Regions from separate parts of the Homo sapiens genome. Here region 1 is linked to region 2. Evidence: promoter capture Hi-C in human tissues and cell types (Jung and others, 2019). All regions are on one chromosome and are shown on one strand. Each heading gives the region's core, a stretch centred on a gene start or on the middle of the fragment in contact. The rest is flanking DNA. Distances are from core to core; before and after follow the strand shown.

Region 1 (5,501 bases), core at 2,828-5,327, 190 kb before region 2:
AAAAGCACGATTATGTTTTGTTACTTTCTACCACCACTCAGGATTTACCTTAGTCATTAGTATTGTTTTCAGACTAAACAGAGAATAACAGTGAAGAGAGAAGAAGCTCATAAATAAGATGCATTTATCTAAAACCCCCTGTCCTTAGAGACCAAGAATGACTTTCCTCTTGGGACTTGAGGAGCGGAGGTGACAGTCTTTGTCACAGGAGCTGAAAGTGAAATGAAGTGATGGTCTCAACCACACTCCCAAGGGAATGATTTTTAAAGAAATGCCTTTGACTTTATTCAGTGACACAACACCTTTTTCATGATACCGCAATGTTGTTCTGTTACATTGTCAGGAATCCTTGGATACAGCACAAATCTGTGCTATTTCAAAGCTATTTCAAAAGGCCTAATAATTCCTTATATTTATCAAGTACTCTAACAGCCAAGACATGAAAATATTCTAATTTTCTTTGCTCAGTGTTAGAGTTTAGTTTAATTCATGATGCTCAAAGTCAGTCCTTCTGCAGAATTTGAGTCAACTGAAAAGATCTGCATGCCCAAAATATACCTCTTTTGTCCACCTGAAGCCCTATTATTGGAGTCCACATAGATTCGCACAATATTTCCCGAGGAACTAAAATTTTAAATTCTATTATCAATAGTTAACTAATACTAGTGAAAACTGCTTAGCTAAATGAAGATACTTGAGGAAATATGACCAGAGCAGGTAAAATAGGCAAGAGATATTCAGAGATAGAGATTAAGGGAGAGAGAAAGAGAGTTTATTTCGGCATTTATTGAAAACATACTCTGCACATGAAACTGGGCATTCTCTGTGCAGTATATTTTTTAATCTTCACAATAAATTATTACTGTTCCCATACCACACAATAGGTCGCACAGCCTGAATCTAGCTATGCTGATGAGAGAACAGGAGTGATGCGTGGGTGTGGAAAGTCTAGAGAAGGCTCACTGCCTGAGAGGATCTGGTGACAGCCAGGACATAGGATGCTAGACGTCAAAGGAAAAAGCTCCAAAGACAAATTCCACCAAAGGGGTGACCCAAAGTGACACAACAGAACCCTAAAATTGCCTCTATTTCATGATCATTTTTAAAACACTTGAAAAACAGGGAGGACAATGATTCATCGAGAGGAAACTACAAGCCCTCTTCAATTCTGAGATACTTCAAAAACAGCAGTAAAGTGTTAAGAGTTTATTGCCGCCGAGAGCTGTGGCTCACACCTCTAATCTCAGCACTTTGGGAGGCCGAGACAGGCGGATTACTTGAGGCCAGGAGATAAGAGACCAGCCTTGCCAACATAGTGAAACCCCATCTCTACTAAAAATATAAAAAATAGCCAAGCTTGGCGGCATGCACCTGGAAGCCCAGCTACTCTGGAGGCTGAGGCAGGAGAATTGCTTGAACGCAGGAGGTGGAGGTTGCAGTAAGCCGAGATCACGCTAGTGCCTCCAGCCTGGGCGACAGAGTGAGACTCCATCTCAATAAATAAATAAATAAATAAATAAATAAATAAACGTTTATTGCAAGAAGTAAGTGCGATAAGCTTGTGAATGTGGTGGGTGGGTGTGCATAGCGTGATGTGTGTGTGAACACACGAGAGTGCAGTACACATGTGAATGATGTGTATGTGTAGATATGTGTGTATATGGGGGAAGGTGATGAAGCACATTTAACACATTATTGCTTTGTGATCCTCTAAATAAATTTTCACACACCTGGGAAAATAAGCAACACTGAGAGGTGAAGCCAACTGGGCTTCTGGGTCCAGTGGGAATTGGAGAACTTTTCTGTCTAGCTAAAGGATTGTAAACACACCAATCAGTGCTCTGTAAAAATGCACCAATCAGCACTCTGTAAAAATGGACCAATTGGCACTCTGTAAAATGGACCAATCAGCGCTCTGTAAAATGGACCAATCAGCAGGAGGTGCACAGGGCCAAATAAGGGAATAAAAGCTGGCCACCCCAGCCAGCAGCAGCAACCCGCTCAGGGGCAGTTCCACGTTGTGGAAGCTTTGTTCTTTGGCTCTTCACAATAAATGTTGCTGCTGCTCAGTCTTAGGATCCGCTGTATCTTTATGACTGTAACACTCACTGGGAAGGTCTGCGGCTTCACTCTGGAAGTCACCGAGACCACGAACCCACCAGAAGGAAGAAGCCACTCCGGACGCGCCACCTTTAAGAGCTGTTAACACTCACTGCGAAGGTCTGCGGTTTCCCTGCTGAAGTCAGGTAAGACCACGAACCCACCGGAAGGAAGAAACTCCGGACACATCCGAACATCTGAAGGAACAAACTCTGGACACACCATCTTTAAGAACTGTAACACTCACCGCAGGGGTCCGCGGTTTCATTATTGAAGTCAGCCAGACCAAAAACCCATAGGAAGGAACCAATTCCGGACACAACACCACGTGAACTATCCCCCTATCTGACAAAATGCCCTGGAGAAAATAATTGTAGCTGTTATAACTGTACTCTTTAAATGCAAAACGGTACCAAAAAATTCCTCATAAATCTAAATACTCCCTAGAAGAAAATTTCTCCCACTCTTCAAGAGGTCCATTTAGCACCTTTTCATCTGTTTTCTGATCCCCAATATTCCTTGTAACCCACCTGTTATAGTAACTGTTAACTGATGACATTACCTCATACTTCACTGAAAAGCTAGACACAATCATATAGGAATTCCCGTATCTTTCTAGCATCATCTCCACCTGTGTTAGAAAACATATGCTCTGCTTTTCTTCAGGTTTCAATGGAAGAAATGTTTGTCTTCTCAGCATAGGCTACCATAGTGTGCTCTGGATCGGATCCTCTCTATGCTTCTCAAGGTTATTTCTGACTCTCTTTGGAATTATTAGTGTCTTTCTCTCTCGTTGCCATGAGCATACAAATTTGCTGTAGGATCTCCCTTTTTTAACGAGTGTTTCCATGATCCTGCAATCCTCCACAAAGGCTGCTCCGAATCCTCTGCTCCCTATCATAGCAAAACTGATTAAAATAGCTCTCTAATATTCACTTCCCCTATGGCTTCGCTTCCTGACATCTCTTTGATCCCCTTCAGTAGGGTTTCTCTCTCTCACTCCAACCCAACGGAACTGCCCATAACCAAGCACCAGTGACTGCCTTACTACCAAAGACAATCTTTAATTCGCCGACCTTATTGCGTGCTCTCAACAACAGTTTAAAGAGTGAACAGTCTCTCCTTATTGAAATGTTTTTATTTCTTGGTTCCCATGAAACCCACCTTTTAGCTTTCCTACTACTTCCCTGTCCATTCTTCCTCAGTTCCTTTACTGGCCACTCCTCTTCTGCAAGACTCCCATCTGAGGTCTCAGGAGTCAGTCTTTATCATTTTTCTATCTTTGATCTATGCTTTCCCTCTTGGTGATCTCCCATAGCTATAGATGACACCTAATTGCATCCAATTTTTTACATTTGGGCCCAACCTCCTTGATGAGATTCATACTCTAATTAATCTAACGGACTACTTAAAATCTATACTTAGATGTAAACTTAACATTTACACCTCCAACTTAACATATTCAAAACAGAATGTGTGTGCTTTGCCTTTTTGTTATTGGTGGGGTGTGTGTCTGCGTGTGTGTGTGTGTTGGCCTCCAAAACCTGTTTTTTCCTCCCAGTGGTCTTCTATATGTTAGTAAATAGTGCCATAATCCAATAAACTTACGACCCAATTTAGAGTACAAACCTAGGAATCATATCTACCTTCAAAATATACCCTGATTCCACCCATTTCTCAGTTTCTATTGCAAATACCTGGTGTCAGCCACTGTGTGATCTCCTGTCTGAACTATCTCTTGCTTGCAGACCTGCTCCATCTCCATCCTGATATCTAGTCTTCACACCGAATCCAAAATAATGTGTTTAAAACATTCATCACATCAATTGTCTAGTTAAAAAACCCCCAATGACTTCTGAGTGCATGTAGAATAACATCCAGATTCCTTATTGTGTCCCTTAAGGTGTGGGATTTCTCTTAATATCTTTGTCTATTCTCTGACTTCCTCTCCCAACTCTCCTCTTTTGCTCACTGTGCTCCAACCACAATGGCCTTTGTTATACTCTCTAAATAAGACAGCCCTATTCTGGTCTCCGGAGTTTGCACTTGCAGTGGCAAGTCACTCTACCTGGGTCACTCTCCCCTCTGCTCCTCATCTAACTGATCCTAATCACTAGGTCTCCTCTCAGATGCCAACTCTGCAGAGATACTTCTGCAGACCAACACATTTAAAATTGATCCATATCCCCCACTTCATTCACTATCACACCATCATGTTTTATTTTCTTCATATAACCTGTAATAAAGAAAAATTCTTATTTGTGTGTTTAATCTTCACCCTAGAATATAAGTTCCATGACAACATGTATGTCTTGTTCATTTACTGTATTCCAGGCGCTTAAATCAGGGTCAAGAAGTAGTTGGTGTTCAGTAAATATTTGTTGAATATAGAGATTGATTAATTATAGTATGTTGTGAATCCTCAATCAGGTAGAAGTGTCATAAGCTAACGATCTGAGCTGATGCACGAATATAGTCTTTTCTTGATAGTTTTAGTCTTGTGCTAAATCACAATAAATACCCTCTAGGCTTAATAGGAGAATGTCACCCAAACACTTCAGGCATGTGGAGAATGTTTTAATGACAGTAAGAACACGCGAGGGGAATTGTTCAAGCTCTATGCTTCATTTCTTTCTTCAACATGGCAGCATAATTTAATTATACGGTGCCATAAACACCCTTATGCATCCAAAGTCAACAATATGTTTACCATAGCCAAGTTGTACAGTTATGAAAAGTTAATTTTTAATCATTTGGTGAACTAATCTTTACTATATCTTACTAGATACAATTACATTGAGATTTGCTGTGTGTTGAAAGGAGATAGATGTCAACTGTCAAATTGCCAGAGTGGCTGTAGTAATATCATACCAAGTAGATGTAAAACAAAAAAAATGTTTCTAGAGTTAAAACGGGACATTTCAAAATGGCAAGAGGGTCAATTCATCAGGAAGATAACAAAACATGTATACACCTAATAAATACACAAAGCAAAAATGGACAGAATTAAAGAAGTATGAAATTCAACGATAATAGTTGGAGTCTTCAATCCCCTCACTTTAATAATGAATAGAACAAGGGAGAAGATCAACAAGGAAATAGAGGACTTCAACAACACCATAAACCAACTAGGCCCAACAGACATCTATAAAACAATCCACCCAGCAACAACAGATTACACATTCTTCACAAGTACACATGAAACATTCTCCAAGACTGATTATACACGAGGCATTGAACATATCTCAGTAAATTCACAAGGATTAGAGTTATGCCAAATATGCTCTCTGACCACAATGAAATTAAATTATCAATTAATATCAGGCATTTGAGGCATTTATAAATATGTGGAAATTCACAACAAAATTCTAAATAACCCATGGTAGGAGAAGAAATCACAA
Region 2 (6,214 bases), core at 2,437-4,936:
CTACATGTAAAGCTACAAATTGTAGATATGCTGCTGCTAAAAAAACAGTAATAACAAAAGAAAACGCCTTAGTTTTTCAGGTCGATAATTATTTCATGCAGAAGCTATTGTGATTAATAAAGTAAAACTCTTTATTAATCCTAATTAATCCTGATGGTCTAATCTGTCCATCAAGATGGACCTTTACGAAGATTACCCATGTAAGGATGGACTGGAGAAGAGTGAGTGTGGAAAAGAGGAGACCAGGTATGAAGTGACTGGGATCTGAATCAGGGTGGCTGCAGTGAGGATGAAAAAAGTGGGATGAATGCGAGACCTATTACCAGGAAGAATGGGCAGATCTGTAACTAATTTAATGGTGATAATAATTTCAATATGAGAGGAGAATGGAACCAAAATTATTTGAGAACCTACTACGTGCCAAATGTGAATCATTACTACATTACACGAATCATTAGTGTCATGTTAAGAAAAAAATCCAAAACCAAAACAAACCAAACAGATCTAATTTGATTTGGGGCAACATTAACAGGAGCTATATTGCTAAAGGTTGAGGGTGAGGTAAGAATTTCCCTCTGTTTTATACAGGTCTAAACCCACATTGAATTTGGAGTATTCTGTTCAGATAAAGTTTAGAGGAAAGCAAGAAATGTGTTCTTTAAAGAACAGGTGAAGGAAACGGGAATAGTGTGGAGAACGGCTGTTTCCATCCATTCATTTTTGAACATATTTATTCAATGTAAATTATGTCAGGCAAGGTAGGTGCAAAAAAAAAAAAAACCCAAAAATAATGACACAAAATAACTGTGGGTATTTTCCGGCAGCCAATGAAGGGAAACATTATTGATTGCCACTTACTACTACATTAAGTACGTTAAATGTATTAGCTCCTTTAATCCTATAAAGTAGTATTATCATCCTTACTTTGGGTTGAGTAAACTGAAGCTTTGAAGCTAAAGTCATTTTCCCAACATCACACATATAAGTGGTGGTGGAACTAGAATCTAAATCCAGCTTCCATTGAATCTGGGGCATGACTTCTCAACCTCTCTGCAATATTGCTTCCTGAAACTCAGATTCACAGGTTTCTTATCTTTGAATGATTGTCCTTAGGAAGTATGGGTATGCAAAAATGCATACAAAATTAATATTCACCACATAAAATATATTTTTTAATCTGGAGATTTAAAAATATACATATTGGGTATCTTCTATTATTATGTAGCTTTTCTTTCAAAATATTGTTAATGTAAATGTAAAGTTATTTGCACATTTTCCGGGAAAAGGTTTTGTAGGCCAAAAAGAAATAGACCTGTTGACTTTTCTGAACTTTATGCTTTTGGGATGGTATGGAAGACATATAACTGTGCAATTATGCAGACTTGTATGTGGTTATAATTGGTATTACATGTGTTTATAGGTCATGCAACACACATGCCTGTATACTAAGGACACAAAGACACATTGACTATATGCTAGCTGCTCAGCTGAAATTATTTTATGGAATTCTTACTTCCCTATGAAACACATATTATCATTCCTACTTAAGGAACCAGGAGACTGAAACTCAAATAGCTTGAGTAGACTGCAAAGGTAGTAAGTTGTAACTATGACTCAAAGAATCATGCACTTTCCACAGTATCATAGCGCCTGCGAGGAGCTGATTGTCTACTGGAGAAAGATTTTTAATTGGTAAGCTCTTTTAAATATCTCTGAAATTGAATTAAGTAGGCAAAAGAAGTGGAGTTTTCCTACTTAGAAATGGTGATATTATCTTTACCCACTCACTATCTTCACTAAGAAAAATGAGCAGAAAAATACAACCAACTGCATATACATACTACTTAAGAAAAAATACAAGAAAAATCAAAATGGAAATGTTAAAAATGATGTTAAGCTATTCATTCAGAAAGGAAATAGAAAGTTCAGGTTGTCACTGTCTCTCAAAGTACTCATGCAAGAAGTCTAAAAATAGCAAAAGGTAGAACCTGCTGCCATATAGATATATGCACAGTGGGTAAAAAAACTTAGTGTGACAACCTTTCAGTCTAGATTTATGTATTTTACAAAGATATCATTTTAAATTTGCAAATGAAACAGTACTCTTAAAAGCAGATGATACTCACTTGGGACAGACAAAAATGTAGTAGAAGGATATAAACGTTACAGGATTTTTCAATTATATAGTATATCTCAAGTCATACTATTATGACTTGTATGTTTTGTAAATTTCCCGTACAGTTTCAAGCATTCTAGCATTTTATAATTCAATTGCCATTTAATTTAAATGGACATGCTAGTTACCACTGCTTTCAGAAGTGTTTGCTTAACTACTTTAACAATTCAATCACTTTGGTGCAAGTTTAAACAAACAGACATGCAACCAAGAATTCATCCTAAGTACTGGTTTTGAGGAACTTTTTTATAACCTGTGGTACTTAGAATTTTACCGTGTTCCCATATCCTGGGAGTTAACTTGACTGGCAGGTCCAATTAAATATGAATAATAACAAAACTGATTATGGTGGATTTGTATATTGACCTTTTTCATTTGAGAGGACAATTAAAACGATCTGAATATACCTCAAGATACCTAATATTTCTGGTGACTTGCAATAATCTTTATTGAAAAGGGAAGACCTCATGAAATATTAAAGAAAATTATATCATTCCTTTCAAGGAACAGTCATGCCTATTTAGTTTTAATTCAATACTAACAGCAAGATTACTGTGTACATTTTAATTTTTAAAAATTAAAGGTTTATTTTTTGTCTCGTATCTGTGCAGACATAGATATGTACTTTTCTCACAGACAAGGCTGGCAGTGAGAATCACCCATGTTTTTAGATAATTTCGAAAGTCCTCTGAATTGTACGTGCCTGTGAAAAAAGGAAACATTAATAATTGGCATCATACCTGAGGATTGTCAGGATTTTGAAAGTGTGGGATTTGTCGTTCCCACCAAACTACCCCACAGTGTCACACACTGCAGTCTTTTTAGGCTGGGAGGCGAGTTCAAGAGCTGTTTGTTGTTCCGAGCTTGATCCAGAGAGGATCACTGTTTGACAAGTTCTATTTTAAGTCGTGCCTGAGTGTGCAGGTGTCAGCCTCTTTCATGGCTGTAGAAAAAGCACCATTACACTCCGTCTGTATTCTTCCCCCGACAATGCAGGATCGCCCCCCCGCCCCCCCGCGCGTTTGTTTCTGCTTTGCCAGCCACTTTTTCTTTGGGAAATTCTAGGGAGGGCAGGCGGACAGGACTGCGAGGAAGGGCGAGGAGGGGCAGAAAGAGGTCGTCTGCCACTCCCCTACCTTACAAGGCACGTGGCACTGGCAGTAGCAGCAGCTGGATGCAACAACTGAGATGAGGAACCTCCTCCCAGCAAGAGGATATTGAGAGAAGGAGGAGGTGGCAGCGAAGGCAAGACATGCACACTGTGTCCTTCCCCAAAGGGAGAATCCGCCCTCAAGGGAAAAACCACAAGGAAGCCACTACCCGCCCCGCCTCTGCCAGCTTGCCCCAGTGTCTGGCAGCAGTCCCCATGCACCTGCTCACCTGTCTATCCGTTCGGGGTGGTTGGGGGAGGGACGAGGGGTGTCGGGGTGGGTGGGTGGGAAGAGAAGGAGGGCAGGGCAAAAGAGGGGGTGCACCGAGGGCTCCGCCCCCCCGGAGGCTGTGCGCAGGCGCAGTGGCTGCTACCGCAGGCAGGGGGCGGCAACATGGCGGAGTGAGCGGCGGCGTCGGGGCTTCACAACAACAGTGGTGGCCGTAGCAGCGGCGGCAGCAGCGTCAATAGCATCGGCCACAGCCTGAGCTTCAGCACCGGCCAGCGTCGTGGCCAGCTGCTCGCGTCCTCGGGCTTCTCGGAGCGGCTGCAGCATCTCCGCGGGGGGCGGGCCGGGCCGGACAGACCGGGAGAGGGAGAGAGCAGAGGCAGCGGCGGCGGCAGCGGCAGCGGCAGCGGCACACCTGCTGGGCGGGCACAGCCGCTTGCCCGGCAGCGGTTAGCGGTACCGCCACCGCCGAGAATAAGCCTGCGGATCCCCCGCCGCCTCCGCGGGGGAGAGCGCCGGAGCGGGCCGGGCTGAGGCGCAGGCGGGGAGCGGGCCCGGCGCCGCGGCGCTGGTGGATGCTGGGGCTCCGAGGCGACGGCCGGGGGGCGGGGGCCGAGGCAGGTATAACGGTACCGGCGGCGGCAGCGCCGCTGCTCTTCCCTTCTCCTCAGGAGGGGGGCCAATGGCTAGCGAGAAGCCGGGCCCGGGCCCGGGGCTCGAGCCTCAGCCCGTGGGGCTCATTGCCGTCGGGGCCGCTGGCGGAGGCGGCGGGGGCAGCGGTGGTGGCGGCACCGGGGGCAGCGGGATGGGGGAGCTAAGGGGGGCGTCCGGCTCCGGCTCGGTGATGCTCCCCGCGGGGATGATTAACCCTTCGGTGCCGATCCGCAACATCCGGATGAAATTCGCAGTGTTGATTGGACTCATACAGGTCGGAGAGGTCAGCAACAGGGACATCGTGGAGACGGTGCTCAACCTGGTAAGGAAAAGGCGTGCTCTCAATCTGCTTCCCCAGTCCCCACATACACCGTCCCCAGCGCCTTTCCCTCCCACCCTTCACCCCCAGGGTCACACGCGCCGCGCGTCCCTGGGAGCGCAGAGCGTTCAGCCGGTATTGCCCAGCGGGTGACCTGCCTGCGCGCTGCTAGAGCCACGCCACCTCCCTCCTCTCCTCTTTCTGGTCCTCTCCTGCCACCTGAGCGCAGTGCCCAACTTAACACCGCTTCTTCTCACTTTTTAGGACCGCGAGTAACCCAGTACCCGCGGTGAAGGTTTTGGGTCGACTTTAGAGTTTAGTTAGGAGGTGAGGAGGCCTCCTGTTCTCTGGGGTTCTTTTTCTCACACTTAATTGTCCTTGGTGTCGCTCTCCGAGGATGACAGCCTTGCCCCTGGAGCCTAAATTCCCCCGTGCTGCTGAAATGTGAGAAGCGCATTAGCTTCCAACTTGAGCAGCTGGGGTGTGATGTTTTCGAAGGAGACAGAAAATGATGCAGTTTTGCATCTGTCTTTAAATATTCCAAGGCCATGATGGAGAGTGTTGTGTCTGTATCCATCCCCCTCCATCTCAGAAGCAGCCGTCCCTTCTTTGTAATATTGCCCTGAATATACTGATCTCTTAGTCATTTTTTGTGCACACAAGGTGTGTGAGGACACCAAATCACACAGGTTGATTTCTGTGGTTACTTTCAGTAGTGTGGCATGTGGGTAAAGACTAAAGGAAAGGTTTTAAACGCAGCCCTAGGTTTTGGTTCCTTTCATGGTAAGAAAGAGTTACTGCAGAAGTGTGTATGACTTAATGTTTTGCGCTATCTACAGAGAGGCTCAGAAGCGTTTAAGATGTCAGGGAAAGAAATGGAAAGAAGGAGAGGAGAATCATACATTGAGGATAATTAACAGTAGTTCATATTTAGTGCTTTGTAAATGGAGGTTTTGTTTTGTTTTGTTTTGTTTTTAAATGCAGCCAAGCTTTTTAAACAGTTTTCTCTGCAATAGATCTAGTCTTTGACATACTGTAAGGTTGGGCTTTGGGAGGCAAGACATAAATCGAGAGCAATCAGTTGAGTATTGTATTTGGTGTGGGGTCACAGGAATATAACAATATGCTTACAGGGGTACTTTGTAACACCCATGCAGTCATTTTTCAGCTAAGCAATTATTTTTACTTACTCTATTGGAAAACTGAGAGAAAGCTGCAGCTACATCAGTGGTGTCCTGAGACATGCATTAGATAATGTCTACGGTTTATGAACCTCGTAAATGCACAGAAAAGTTGAAGCTGTTTTTTTCCTTTTGCTAGTGTGTCAGGTCAAAGGAGATTATCTGTCTTTGTTATATTCATTGCTGTTTAAAACAAAACACCTCTTTTTACTTTTTTGTACCTTTCAAATAAATCATCATGAAAAGTCAGTGTAAGTTTGAGGGAATGTCACTAAGTTGATATAACCAAGTTCTTTTCAGAACACTACTAGAAATACAGTTTTCTTGAGTTTTAATTTTAACTAGCTGCAAATAAGAGGTCAGTACTTGCCATTTCTTTTTAAAAGAAGATAAATCTCAAACTGTTAGTATGTTAGCAGGTAACTGTATTTCTGTAATTTAAAGGAACACATTTTTAGTTGCAGTTTTGATCTAACCAATATCATTTTTAAGTTAGATTATATTA

Evidence for each region. The method cuts DNA at HindIII sites, captures the fragments that hold promoters and counts their contacts. A contact is called where the count stands out against the background at its distance.
Region 1: a fragment that was not itself captured here is called in contact with the fragment with the promoter of NBEA in region 2 in 1 of the 25 tissues and cell types used here (dorsolateral prefrontal cortex).

The regions. Positions count from the first base shown.
Region 1 is chr13:34,751,526-34,757,026 of GRCh38, forward strand. No RefSeq gene overlaps it. Among named protein-coding and RNA genes, the nearest start is that of LINC00457, 110 kb to the left of the region's middle. The HindIII fragment of the contact is 8,365 bases long and covers 1-5,501 here.
Region 2 is chr13:34,938,584-34,944,797 of GRCh38, forward strand. NBEA (neurobeachin) reads left to right here and starts at 3,687. Exons shown (of 59, transcript NM_001385012.1): 1 at 3,687-4,531. The coding sequence starts at 4,238. LOC124903231 (a long non-coding RNA gene) reads right to left here and starts at 3,607. Exons shown (of 2, transcript XR_007063908.1): 1 at 3,557-3,607; 2 at 2,738-3,119. RefSeq lists an enhancer at 3,269-3,378 and silencers at 3,549-3,618, 4,059-4,178, 5,238-5,327. The HindIII fragment of the contact is 6,257 bases long and covers 1-6,014 here.